Regions from separate parts of the Homo sapiens genome. Here region 1 is linked to region 2. Evidence: promoter capture Hi-C in 16 types of primary human blood cells and fetal thymus (Javierre and others, 2016). All regions are on one chromosome and are shown on one strand. Each heading gives the region's core, a stretch centred on a gene start or on the middle of the fragment in contact. The rest is flanking DNA. Distances are from core to core; before and after follow the strand shown.

Region 1 (7,161 bases), core at 1,059-3,558, 2.7 Mb after region 2:
AATCCTAGTCTAGAGTGAATGTGAAGAGTAAGAAGTTTGAAGTCAGGATTTCAGAGATAGTCCATTTATTACCAGTGATAAAGGTCAGTCATACCATGTGGCTTGAGTGTTGGCTTGCTTTTCTGGTGTGAGAACACTAAAGTAGTAGTAAGATGCCTTATGGTTTTATGCCATCCACATACATTGTTTATCCACACAACAACCTTGAGATTTAGGCAGAATATGAATAATCACTTCATTTTTTAGATGATGAAATTTATGCTCAAAGAGATAGATACTGGTGAAATACATGGATTCAATGCAAAGACATGATTGTTACCCAGATTTCGAACTATTCCTCTTTCAATACCATAATTAGGACTCTCTTGTAATTCCATTCTAGAACTGTAGAACTACGTAACTATAATAGAAAAAGTATTTGTCAATATACTGTTTGCTTTGTTCTTTTCCTTTTGGTGTATTTCTCAAATTGATAACTATTGGAATTTTTTTTTCCTTCTGATCATAAGTCACAGGTCATCAAGATAGAAAAGTATAGTCTTAACTTTAAATGCTTATATTTTTCACATGTATCTTTTTAGATTTCTGCTAAACTTGGAACAAATGTTGAGAGTGTTCTTCAGGCAATTATTGAAAGAATCCCCCCGTGAGTATTTGGTGATTTTTGTACTAGTTGTCTCTATTTAATAGTTCAAAAACTGTCCATGTTTAATAGTTCAAAGACTGTCAGCTTGAACTGTTATTTTAGCTTAATGGATGTGGCAAATATTCTTGCAGGCAGCGAGAATAAATTTATTTGCTTTTAGTAATACATAGAAGGCAAGTACAGTAAAGTAAAAGAAAAAGTAAAGATGATTGATAGAGGTCTTTTCATGACAATCATTATAAAATATACCTCAGTACATTGGCAGTTATTTTCCTTTGCTTTAAGCTGAACAAATATATTCATAAATAATTTGTTAAAACTAGAGGTTATTAAATCTAATATATTTTATAAAAAGGTCTTTTTATTTAGGCTGTTGTGTATCAAACTTTCTCAAGAACTCAAGTACAATATCTAAGTTGAAAATAAGAATTTTATTAAGATTTTAATTTAGTGTATATATATTTACTTTTTACTTATATTTACTAGTCCTAAAGTGCATCGCAAAAATCCTCTGAGAGCTTTGGTATTTGACTCCACCTTTGACCAGTATAGAGGTGTGATAGCCAATGTAGCATTATTTGACGGAGTGGTTTCCAAAGGAGATAAAATTGTATCTGCACATACTCAAAAGACATACGAAGTTAATGAAGTAGGAGTCTTGAATCCTAATGAGCAGCCAACTCATAAATTGTAAGTAATCTGCATTAGTAAAATTAAAATGCATTTGTATGTGGTTCTATTTCTGCATTTTTCTCAACTTGGTATGCTTAGAATGATCCTCATTTGGTAACTTAAAAAAAACTATTTAATGCAACTATACAGTAAATGCTCTGTCAAGGAATCTCATGGGAAGGACAATAGAAACGTCAGTTGATACTTTTTTTATTCTAAATGACTAGTTATAACTAGATTTATGATCAAGGGTAGATTGGATCCTATATCGATGTATTTGATGAGACAATGAAAGAGTTAGTTCCCTCCACCCATATCCATATTAGGTATCATTTTTGACATTTCTTCATAACTAGATTTTCCAATGTAAAGGTGGTATAATAGAAACCTTAATAAATCTTTAGTGTGGAATTCATGGTAAAACCTTGATTAAAATTCTTGGGGAGTAGGATTAGCAAGGGTAGTGTGCATTAGAAAAACATCTGAATTGACTTGTAAAAGAACTATTTATTGAGTGCCTACTCCGTATCAGGTACTGATGAGGCATGACCTTGGGTACATAATTTGAGCTTTGTAAGGTCCTGTTCCTTGTCTGTAGAAATTATTGAACCAGATGACTGTCAGATCACATTTGAGTGTTTAGTGTTATATGTCTAAAAACAGCACTATATTGAGTCAGAAAGTCTATTTTTATTTTACTGAAATATTTTAACATCTATTTATATTCTGCCATATATACCAAACATTATCACATCTTCATTTAAGGTTCTTAAAGCTCATTCTAAGTGTAAATCATTTTAGTTTTGTAGGGATTTTTTTTTTTAACTAAGCTTAAACTGAACTCATAGGATTTGCTCTTTTGCTACAGGAGGAATATCAAGTGTCCAGTTTGTTGAGAGTTCACATTTTTCTTGGATAAAAATTTACCTTTTTTTCCTTTGTTAAAGAACATTTTCAACACAATTCATTAATAAAAGACATCACAAGTGTACTTATTATAATGCTTTTGTACTTACTAGTTTCACTGTATTTACATATATTTTAGAAACTGCTGTTTAAATTGCAAAGGTTGGCAGAATCATGAAAAAGGCATTAGGTTTATAAGTAGAGAGGTCTAATGGATTGTAAGACCTGGTGTGTTCATTTGCTGACAAGCTTCAGAGTTTGATAATTGATATGTAGCACTTATTTTCAAAGTGTATGGAAAGTTTGGAAAGTGTATGATAGTTTCCTGGGAAGGTAGAACTAATTGTGAGTTATGTGCTTGAAACATTAAAGCAGTAAATATTTGCATATAATAATTTTATTTAGATATGCAGGACAGGTGGGCTATCTGATTGCTGGGATGAAAGATGTCACTGAAGCGCAAATAGGAGATACATTATGTTTACATAAGCAACCAGTGGAGCCCTTGCCTGGGTTTAAATCAGCGAAACCAATGGTATTTGCAGGTGAGGAGTTCACAAATTCAAAGGTTGAGGGCCATGATATTTTTAAACTAAAAGTCTGTCTCAGTGGTTAAGGAAAAAATACACATTCTGGTTATTTTAAATAACCACTAATTCCAGCATATTGTTTCACTTTGTGCTGTTTATCAGTTTATAATTACATATGTGTGATGAAATTATATGTGGGAGATCATTTAGGATGTGTTAAGAAATAAGTTCTTGAGGAAGAAGCTGTGATATATAGGATACAGTAATATAAATTTCTTTCTTATTTTTCTAGGGAGTTCATTATTATATTTGAAACATTTTTCTAATTAGGATGTTCTTATTAGTAATTATCAGTAGACACTGACTGAGTGCCTTCATCTTCGATAGACTTTCTTTAATATTGTACTGTACTAATGTAGATATGACAGAATGGTGTTGCCTCAAGTACGTATAATTTCAGAATCTTTTACTTCATTTACTTTGGAAAAAGGAAGACCTGATTGAAGGTCATCAGGTTACTCTGTGCTGAGTATCTAGCCCTTAATTTTTGCCCTACAGTCTCTCTCACTGGGAATTAGGAACTTTGTTTACCCCTACCTTTAGGCAAAGTCAGTCATGTGGATTTTAGAGGACTTCAGAGGTGTCAGATGAAAGAGAATCAGTAGTGATTCCCATAGTTTTTGTCAGTAAATACCAAAAAGCAAAATTTAACTATGGTTTTAAGTAGATAATCTGCCTTAGAGAATTGAGAGTGCAGTATAGTTTTCATGTCTACTTCTATTTTTATCCAATAATAAAGTTTCATTTGGGTTGTGGAATGTCTTGTGCTTTTGTTTTTGAAATTACACTGTGTTTTCTTAATAGGCCTAATTCCCATGTTTTTTTTTTTCTTTTCCCTGTATTTTTTCAAAAACATTAAAAACATTATTTGGAGTGCAAATCTAGTTGTATATTCTTTCAGACTAATGACTTGTAAGATACTTTGAAACCAAATAATCATTCATTTTTAGCAAACCAATATTTTGGTCAATAAAATACAAGAAAGTAATTTAAAAGGTAAATGACTAATTTGGAACTTGGCAGCACTACACATGTGGTTTGATAGGTCTGTAGGCAGCTTATCACGTGATAATTAGAAATCATTGTATCCCCAGGAATGTATCCTCTAGACCAATCTGAATATAACAATCTGAAGAGTGCTATAGAAAAACTGACTTTAAATGATTCCAGTGTGACCGTTCATCGGGATAGTAGCCTTGCTCTGGGTGCTGGCTGGAGGTAAGATTCATTCACATGTGTTTTATAGGAAAGGGAGGTGTAAATGGTGTATTTTAAAAATATTTTTATAGGAAAGGGAGGTTTTTAAAAAATATCTTTATAAGTAAGGGAGGTATAAAATGGTGCATTGTTCTGGAACATTTACTGAAAATAAGTTTATATTAGTGTAAAGTGAACGAAAACAATTTTTATCTGCCTGTTTCACGTTGCGGATTGACATTTTATGGGTAAGTTTTATAGTGATTTAAAATAGATTCCCAATGGAAGATTTTAATCTTATTTAATAAAATTATGCTAGCATTTAATTATATTGTGAATTGTTTGAATGACTTAATTCCATCCCTCCCTTAAAGTAACAATATGTTCATTAAAAAAAAAAAAAATGAAGCCCATGGGACATAAACATTTTGGAGTTTGTCTTTTCCTCCCCCAGGCTAGGATTTCTTGGACTTTTGCACATGGAAGTTTTCAACCAGCGACTGGAGCAAGAATATAATGCTTCTGTTATTTTAACAACCCCTACTGTTCCATATAAAGCTGTACTGTCATCATCAAAATTGATAAAGGTACTTGGTATTTAGTACTGGTATTTAGTACTGTTTTGCATTAGTCTCTTGGAAAAAATAAATGTGTGTATATACAATGCAGGAGAAGCTTTTTACTATACCAATAGCTGATTAAGTATTAAACAAAATATTTATTGATTAGTAGTAATAAACATTGAATTACCCTATGGCTAATGATGAAGAACTTTTTTGAAAACTAATTTATGCAATATTTTTCTTAACCTGATGTAATCTCCAGATTATCAAAACTAGTCTATTGCTGATAGTAAAAGGTAAAATTAGTAGTGAAAATAATGTTCTGATTCTAGCACAAAGATGAAAAATGTAATTTTGGTCATAAGTAATTTATCTCGTAAAAAGTGAAGCATTCATTCTGGTGACTGGGAAATTTTAAATTTCAAATCAGTGATGAAGACAGTATTGTATTCCATGTAAGTGGCAATCTGTTCATTTTAAACAAATACTAATTTTGGCAATCTAAATATTTTCCAACAAAATTAACTTATTAGACTATAATGTTTTATAAGTGTCAGGTTAAAGTGTATTCTTTTGTCATACTTCTTCTAAATGGTCCATGAAATATGTTTAGTAAATATCAATAATTGGAATATATTGTTTACTAATACTTGTTATTAATATTAAATGATTACAGCTGGAGGGATTTTAAAATATAAGGCAAACAAGAAAAATGATAATCATTATATTAAGATTTTAAGTATTGCTGATTTTTCTAATTTTTAGGAACATAGAGAAAAAGAAATTACAATTATCAATCCTGCACAATTCCCCGATAAATCAAAAGTAACAGAATATTTGGAGCCAGTTGTTTTGGGCACTATTATCACACCAGATGAATACACTGGAAAAATAATGATGCTTTGCGAGGTATAACTATAATACAATTTAATACAAAATTAGGTTTTAGTCCTCTGAAATAGTGATTTCCAACTCAGGTTTTAAAAGATTTCTTTCTGCTGAGCATACTGAATTTAATGAGATTTTCATATATATATCTGTCTATATCTATACACATAGATATGTATACTTTTTAAATTATTTTGATTTTAAATAAAAATATTTCTGATAATTTGTGTAATTTACTGATTTGATATGTTAGCCCAAAGGAAAGAAATTTGATAATTAGCTAAATGTATAATTTCGCCTTTTTGAGTAGTTTGAAAGATAATTATAGTACTTCAGGGACCATAAATTTGAAGGTACTCCCATTTTGCTTTAGTTCTCACCACATTGTAATAAATGATTTAATCCACAAATGGTATGTAATTATATTCCTTAAAAATACCTATGTGAAATACTCTGATACATATTGGAAAGTGTGTCAAATGGTGACTGAGCTTTGATTAGGTTAAAAACTAGATTGTAATCTTGGTCTTAACTTTTAATTTCTCTGGACCTAATTATTTGTAAAACAAGAAATTAGGACTTTTGACTTTATATGTAGTTACATTTGATTTACTGTTAAATGAAATAGTGTTCATTTTAAAAGATAAAATTGTTAGATAAAGATTAAAAGCTTTGGTAGCAAGCCTAATGCAATTGAAATATAAAATGTTTCTCTCTGGATTATAAATACTGCCTATAAGTTTTTACTAGACCTTTAGAGAAATACATCATTCCTCAGTATTTGAGTAGGTTATCATTAAACCCATTTTCTTCCTTCCCTTTTTAGGCTCGAAGAGCAGTTCAGAAGAATATGATATTTATTGATCAAAATAGAGTTATGCTTAAATATCTCTTTCCTTTGAATGAAATTGTGGTAGATTTTTATGACTCTTTGAAATCCCTATCTTCTGGATATGCTAGGTAAAAAAATAATGAGAACCTAAGATGCCTGACCAACTTTTTTGAAATATTGATGAGCAAGGGTATACTAATTCTTCATTTATTTAGTAATTTCAGCTTTCTTGAAGATAGTTGAGAATCATACTCTAAGGTTAGAATGACTTGGAACAACTTTATAGGTGTTACAGACTACTTGTGATTTGCTTATAGGAGAAAAGTTTCCTTTGATTTATTATCTAACTTTTATTTCTCTTTTAACAAAAAAAGTTAGTCCCCTTTTCATGAAGAGCTGTATTCCTTGTCTGTTAAGAATTAGACCTAATTTCAAAAATTTACCATAACCTCAGTGGCACTTTTAAAATGTATATTTATGTTATGCAATCTCAAGAGCATCTATTTACATTTGAAAAATAAAAGTGCATATTCAGTCTGTAAAAAATGTTAGATGTGCCGCTCCATTAGTGAACACTTTAATAACTTAGTCTTTTGAGGAACAGGTTGTCCTCATCACGAAAACCTTTGTGTATCTCATAGGAGTACATGGAGAAAAGCCAGATAAAAGTGAAAGGAGAGTTACTATTAAATAACAAATAAGAAACTCAGGGCATAGCATTCTGAGAGGCTGTTTTTTGTTGTTGTTGTTGTTGTTGGGGCATATAACTCTAGATACCCTCACTATGCCCTAAAATCTTATGTTACGGGATAGTATATATAGAAAACAGATGTGAAACATGGGGAAGCAGGAGGGGAAAAATGAACA
Region 2 (7,101 bases), core at 4,297-6,796:
TCCAGCCTTCTACTTTGGGGAGGTAGGCTCACAGGTAGGACATTCCCCAGATATTGGAAGTATGTTCAAAATATGCTGTGCAGTCACAAAATATAAATGCTCTTCACTGGCACTGAGTGCTATCATTAAAAAAAAAATCTAGCTCAGGAGACCTGAAGTTATTTTAAAATTGTATGTGTAATCCAGAATCCATTTCCCATAGCAATTGTTAAACAATGTCTGCTTTCAAATTTATTATTCTTCATTCCTGACCTTGTTCTAAGCTTAACCAATCACATATTTTCTCATTTGACATCCCAGTGATTAATAGCTGAAACCCATTGCCTGGAGAATGGTTTCCATTGTGATGTGGTACTCCTTGGGTGGAGAGTGGGATGAACAGGCAACAGAATGCTTTGTTTATGGAAAAGGAATAAGAGTGTGAGTCCATTATCAGAAAATGCAGCAAGGGTGTAAAATATTGGGCTGCCATGTTAGAGCTCACCTGTTACCATAAAAACCTCTGTACTCAGCAGCTGGGTCAGTGGGAAGCCTGCTGCCCAGTTCGAATGGTATATTGAATTATATGACCAGTCTTGGCATCAGTTTAACATATTTTTAAGTAACTTTTATTTTTTCTTCCTTTCTTTTAGTTCCTTTTTTTTTTCTTGCAAGTAGGAAGCAGGAATGACTGTTCAATTATTAGATATTCAAGTTTAGAATTCACTGTCATTACTGCACAATTCATTTGCTGAAATAACAAGTAGCAGATGCTACAGTGCAAGTTAATGAATAATTCTTATTTGTACTCTGGCCTTTCATTGCAATTCATTTGTTACAGACATGTGGGTTTAGTAATTATTATTCTCACACTTTCTAAAATGTTTTTAGCTTTTTAAAAAGCATTTTGCTCATTTTTTTATTTCCTTCTGTTTGTTTCATTCTATTTATTAAATTCTCCCATTTATCCCAATTGTTTGGGAAGTCTCATGGCTCTTTATGGTTCTCTTCTGAGAGGAATATGAAATACTTCAATTGATTTGTTCCTTATTGCAAATAAGCCAAAGCCATGGCTCATTTACCATTACCGGGTTTGTTTACCATTTCACAGGCACACTTGAGGCCTCAGCTTTCAAGGGCATGTTTTCAGCCTGTTACAAACCATGCTTGGCCTTCCTTCTCTAAAGTCTGCTCCTTCCTAACCAGGAAACAGGGCAGGAATGGAATTTTCTTCCCATTCCAGTTTCTCTTTAGCTGCTTGTGTCCAGAAGTTGATATGGCATAGCTAAAATTAATACCTGAATTGACCCAGTTCACCTTCTGTTTTAGAAACAACAACAACAAAAAAATTGGCTAAAAAGTAAAGGCCTGGGTATTTTTAGAAAGAGCAATAATTAGTGTAAAATGTCACAGAAATATAATACGTTTAGATTCATGTCAGACAAAAGTTATTTCCAGGAAGCTTCTCAAAGACAAGAAAAGGGATGTTGGAGATATTGGGAAAAAGTATAGTGAAATTGGTAAGAATAAATAAGCTGCAGTGAAGCCTATCTGAAGCATTTGGAATATGACTTTGCAAGAGGCTCAGAATAGAATAGAGTAGGAATCTATCCCTGTTTATCTTTTTACCTCCCTATCCGTCTTGTATAGATATTGGAGTAAAAAGATGAGGAATGTTGCCTCTTGTTCCTCTCTCTGTGACTCACAACAGTGATGCTAAAGTGAGGAAGTGGCTTCAGACATGAACAGAGGTGGGGGATGGGAAAAACGGTCAGTATTAAGAGGCATGTGGCATGTGTGAAGATTTAGGAATTTAAAACACACACACACATGGTGGAAGCTGGTAAGCCTTGCCTTTTATACACAGTTCTGAATTTTAACTCTGAGGAGAGGAGTTTTTTGGGGTATAATTCTCTGTCGTAAGAGGCTGCCCTATGTGTTGTAGGATGTTTAGCAGCATCTCCAGCCTCAACCCACTCGATGCCAGTAGTATCCAGTTGTGACAGCTAAAAATGTCTCCAGATATTGCCAACAGTTGTCCCAGGATGAGAACCACTGCTGCAAAGGTCACACGATGTGGTTGGGCAGGGTGAGTATGGGACCTTGAGCTGGGGTAAGACCTGAGGGGCAGAGTTGTGAGAGTTATGGGGAACGTTTCCAATTTCTTCTATGGAGAAATGGGAAGAGATGGTGGATGAAGGAAATGGAGTGGCATGGTGGGAATGGAGTATGTAAATTCCTAAAAGAGAAGGAAAGAATCCTAAAGGCTGAAATAATTTTTTAAGACAGTAGATAAAAAGTCATGTAGCATTTAAGGAGACTTATTTTTTCTAGAAGGTTGATTTATATGTTTATTGAGAGGGAAGGAAAGTTAGTTAATCAGAAAAGAAGGGGGAGGTGGGGATGGTAAATGAGTTAAAAAAAAAAAAAAGTTAAATAATGAATAGGACTGGCCAGGCGTGGTGGCTCATGCCTGTAATCCCAGCACTTTGGGAGGCCGAGGCAGGCGGATCACAAGGTCAGGAGTTCGAGACCAGTGTGTCCAATATGGTGAAACCCCATCTCTATTAAAAATACAAAAATTAGCCTGGCATGGTAGCGGGAGCCTGTAGTCCCAGCTACTCGGGAGGCTGAGGCAGGAGAATCACTTGAACCCAGGAAGCAGAGGTTACAATGAGCCGAGATCGCACGACTGCACTCCAGCCTGAGCAACAGAGCAAGACACACACACACACAAAAAAAAACACAAAACACAAAAAACGAATAGGACCTACTATTTGATAGCACAACGGGGTGATCATGGTCAATAGTAACTTAATTGTATGTTTTAAAATAACTTAAAGAGTGTAATTGGATTGTTTGTAACTCAAAGGATAAATGGTTAAGGGAATGGATACCCCATTTACCCTGATGTGCTTATTTCACATTACATGCCTGTATCAAAACATCTCGTGTACCCCATAAATATATACACCTACTATATATCCACGGGAATTAAAAATTGAAAAAAAGAAGTGGAAATAGATTGAAAGCTCTCCCTGTAGAGTAGAAGTTGGATAGATTTTGCAGAAATAACCTTAATCCCTTATTCCTCTCAGTGAAGGAGCCTATGAAATAAAGGAGAATTAAACATGTAGTTCTTATAATTTTCATTCCTTCATTCACTTATCTATATCCTATGTCCCATGTACTATATTATACACTAGACAGTAAGGATAGAAAGATGGATAAGAAACAATCCCTGTCTAAAGATGTCCACAGTATACTAGGGTAGACAAAGATGTGTAATCAGTTTGATTGAGAATCTCACCTCAAGAGGCATAAGCTTGAAAGTCTCATCATTTCTACACTTGGTATTTTGTCAGATTTCATTGCTTCAAAGTATCAGCCTCCTTAGTTATTAAAACTTTCATTCTAGGTATTAAGATTAGGTCCTACTGATTTAAAATATTAGTCTCATATTTATTTCAAAAACTTCCTCCATGCCTTCCAGAGCAGACTAGACCCGTAGTTCCAACTTTCTTTATACACACCCCTTTTTTTCCATGTGCCTGCTCTTCCGATGGTGGGGTCAGGAGGTTTAAGAAGGAAAACAGGCAATGCCTTAAATGTCTGACTGCCGCCATGTTGCTATCTGCTTTCTGTAGGTCATTGTTAGAATATATGGGGTTCCTAACAGCCCCACTGATAACTCAGTATCAAGCAGTCCTCTATGCTTTGATAGCCCTTTGCAAGACTTCTGCATCTGTCAGCTGACTTCCATTTGGCAGTGGTGAAACACATTCTTCTGATACATAGAAATCCCTTGTCCCATGTTATGTTCCATGGCAAGTGTGTGGGCCTCAATCTCCTGTGCTCTCTGTGATCCCAGCTCTGGGGCCTGTAGATTCCGACAGGATCCATAGTCCAGATATCACCGGATTTCTCTGTAGTCCCTACCAACTCTCCCCAGTCCTCCAAAATTCCTGGAAATTCATAGCGTAAGGGGAGTCAGCAAGCTTTGTGGCAAAGGAAACATCCAGATGGGGACTGGAGATATCAGCCTCCTCTTGAAGACACCCCAAAACTTTACTAGTATCATGTAATAGGTACTAATGTCCTGAACAGAACATGAAAGACACTAACCATTAATGAAACAAATGGACAATTTGGATAAATTCATAATTTATTTACTTATTTTTCTTTCTTTTTGAGACAGGGTCTTATTCTGTCTCCCAGCTGGGCTGGAGTGCAGTGGGGTGATCACTGCAGCCTCAACTTTCAGGGCTCAGGTGATTTTCCCTCCAAGACTCCTAGGCTCAAGTGATTTTCCCTCCCAGTCTCCTGAGTAGCTGGGTCTACAGGTGTGCACCATACCCCGCTAATTTTTGTATTTTATTTATTTATTTATTTTTTGAGACAGAGTCTTGCTCTGTTGCCCAGGCTAGAATGCAGTGGCGCGATCTCGGCTCACTGCAAGCTCCGCCTCCCGGGTTCACGCCATTCTCTTGCCTCAGCCTCCAGAGTAGCTGGGTCTACAGGCGCCCGCCACGATGCCCGGCTAATTTTTTTAATTGTTGGTAGAGACGGGGTTTCACCGTGTTAGCCGGGATGGTCTCAATCTCTTGACCTCGTGATCCGCCTGCCTGCGCCTCCCAAAGTGCTGGGATTACAGGCGTGAGCCACTGCGCCCGGCCTAATCTTTGTATTTTTTTAGAGACAAAGTTTCACCATGCCGCCCAGGCTGGTCTCTAACTGTATTTTAAAAATACAGGCGGCCGGGCGCAGTGGCTCACGCTTGTAATCCCGGAACTTTAGGAGGCTGAGGCGGGCCGATCATGAGGTCAGCAGATCGAGACCATCTGGCTAACACGGTGAAACCCTGTCTCTACTAAAAATACAAAAAAAATTAGCCAGGCGTGGTGGCGGGCGCCTGTAGTCCCAGCCACTTGGGAGGCTGAGGCAGGAGAATGGCGTGAACGTGGGAGGCAGAGCTTGCAGTGAACCGAGATCGCGCCACTGTACTCCAGCCTGGCCGACAGAGCGAGACTCCGTCTTAAAATAAAAAATAAAAAAATAAGAAATACAGGCAGGGCGCGTGGGCTCATGCTTGTAATCCCAGCACTTTGGGAGGCTGAGGCGGACAGGCTGCTTGAGCTCAAGAGTTCCAGACTAGCATCGGCAAAGCAGGGAGACCCCATCTTTACAAAAAAAGTAGCCTGGCATGGTGTTGTGAGCCCATAGTCCCAGCTAAGTAGGGCAGAGGTAGGAGAATCACTTGAGCCCAGGAGTTCCAGGCTGCAGTGAGCCGTGGTCGTGCCACTGGACTCCAGCCTGGGTGAAAGAGCAAGACCCTGTCTCAAAAAGAGAAAGGAAAAAATTTAACATCAAGAACTTCCTTTCATCAAGACACCACTGAGAGAATACGACAACCCACAGAGTAGGAAAAGAGATTTGTAATACACATCTGTAACAATGGACTTCCTCCTAGAATAGAGAGGATAAAAAGTAGCAACACTTCCGCTTGCACCCGGACGGAACTTCCTGTCACGGAAAAGAACATCCTGTCACGGAGAAGAACATCCTGCAGAATTTCCTGTCACGAGGAACATTCCGCAGGAGGAAATGGAGGCTGAAAGGCTGCGACTCCTCGAGGAAGAGGCCAAGCTGAAAAAGGTAGCCAGAATGGGATTTAATGCATCTTCCATGCTCCGAAAAAGCCAGCTAGGTTTCCTCAACGTCACCAGTTACTCCCGTTTAGCCAACGAGCTGCGTGTGAGCTGCATGGAGCGGAAAAAGGTCCAAATTCGGAGCTTGGATCCCTCCTCTTTGGCGAGCGACCGATTTAACTTCATTCTGGCGAGTACCAACAGCGACCAGCTCTTCGTAGTGAACCAGGTCGAAGTCGAAGGCTCCAAGTACGGCATCATCAGCCTGCGAACTCTGAAGATCCCTTCGTTCCACGTGTACGTGCTCAGAAACCTCTACGTCCCCAACCGGAAGGTGAAGTCCCTGTGCTGGGCCTCGCTGAACCAGTTGGACTCTCACGTTCTGCTGTGCTTCGAGGGAATCACAGATGCTCCAAGCTGTGCAGTGCTGCTCCCAGCGTCGCGGTTCTTAAGTGTTCACACAAGAGTTAACCAGCCTGGCATGCTCTGCAGTTTCCAGATCCCAGAGGCCTGGTCCTGTGCGTGGTCCCTCAACACCCGGGCATATCACTGCTTTAGTGCAGGCTTGTCTCAGCAGGTCCTGTTGACCAGCGTGGCGACGGGACACCAGCAGTCATTTGATACCAGCAGTGATGTCTTGGCCCAGCAGTTTGCTAGTACGGCTCCTTTGCTGTTTAATGGCTGTCGCTCCGGGGAGATCTTTGCCATTGATCTGCGTTGTAGAAATCGAGGCAAGGGGTGGAGGGCCACTCGCCTGTTCCATGACTCAGCAGTGACCTCTGTGCAAATCCTCCAAGAAGAGCAATGCCTGATGGCATCAGACATGACTGGAAAGATCAAGCTGTGGGATCTGAGGGCCACTAAATGTGTAAGGCAGTACGAAGGTCACGTGAATGAGTCCGCCTATCTGCCCCTGCATGTGCACGAGGAAGAGGGAATCGTGGTGGCAGTGGGCCAGGACTGCTACACGAGAATCTGGAGCCTCCATGATGCCCACCTGCTCAGAACCATCCCTTCCCCGTACTCTGCCTCCGAGGACGACATTCCCAGCGTGGCCTTCGCTTCTCGGCTCGGGGGCATCCGGGGAGCAGCACCAGGGCTGCTCATGGCTGTCCGGCAGGACCTTTATTGTTTCCCCTTCAGCTAATTCTGCAGGTGGCAGCGCGGCCGAATGTGGATTTGACTTAAGGAAGTTAAGAGTATCTTATTACCGTTTCTGTGAGAGCATTTTAAGAGACGTGTTGTATATAGATCGCATCCATCCGGCTGCCAGGGGTAAGGTGTTAAGAGTTTTATGTGGAGACGTTCTTGTAAAGTTATTTCAGTTAAACTGTGGACTTAACTTGAAAGTCCTTTTCATAAAAGGTACCTGTTTCCTCTTGTTGAATGCCTTAGAACAGTTAACCACCTCCCCAACCCTTTTTTTTTTTAAATAATTAAGACTTTTCTAAGGACTGAAGATTGGCAAAAACTA

The links. Contacts are between HindIII fragments. The CHiCAGO score rates a contact against its expected background, and 5 or more counts as called.
Region 1: a contact is called between a fragment that was not itself captured here and the fragment with the promoter of DCAF4L1 in region 2, in 1 of 17 cell types (non-activated CD4 T cells). The highest score is 7.2, in non-activated CD4 T cells.

What each region holds. Positions count from the first base shown.
Region 1 is chr4:44,685,378-44,692,538 of GRCh38, forward strand. It overlaps GUF1 (GTP binding elongation factor GUF1), which reads left to right. Exons shown (of 17, transcript NM_021927.3): 7 at 582-646; 8 at 1,133-1,336; 9 at 2,630-2,769; 10 at 3,909-4,032; 11 at 4,466-4,598; 12 at 5,340-5,483; 13 at 6,289-6,422. Among named protein-coding and RNA genes, the nearest start is that of GUF1, 11 kb to the left of the region's middle. The HindIII fragment of the contact is 325 bases long and covers 2,147-2,471 here.
Region 2 is chr4:41,976,210-41,983,310 of GRCh38, forward strand. DCAF4L1 (DDB1 and CUL4 associated factor 4 like 1) reads left to right here and starts at 5,547. Exons shown (of 1, transcript NM_001029955.4): 1 at 5,547-7,101. The coding sequence starts at 5,584. The coding sequence ends at 6,774. RefSeq lists enhancers at 5,278-6,477, 6,037-6,809. The HindIII fragment of the contact is 3,961 bases long and covers 3,976-7,101 here.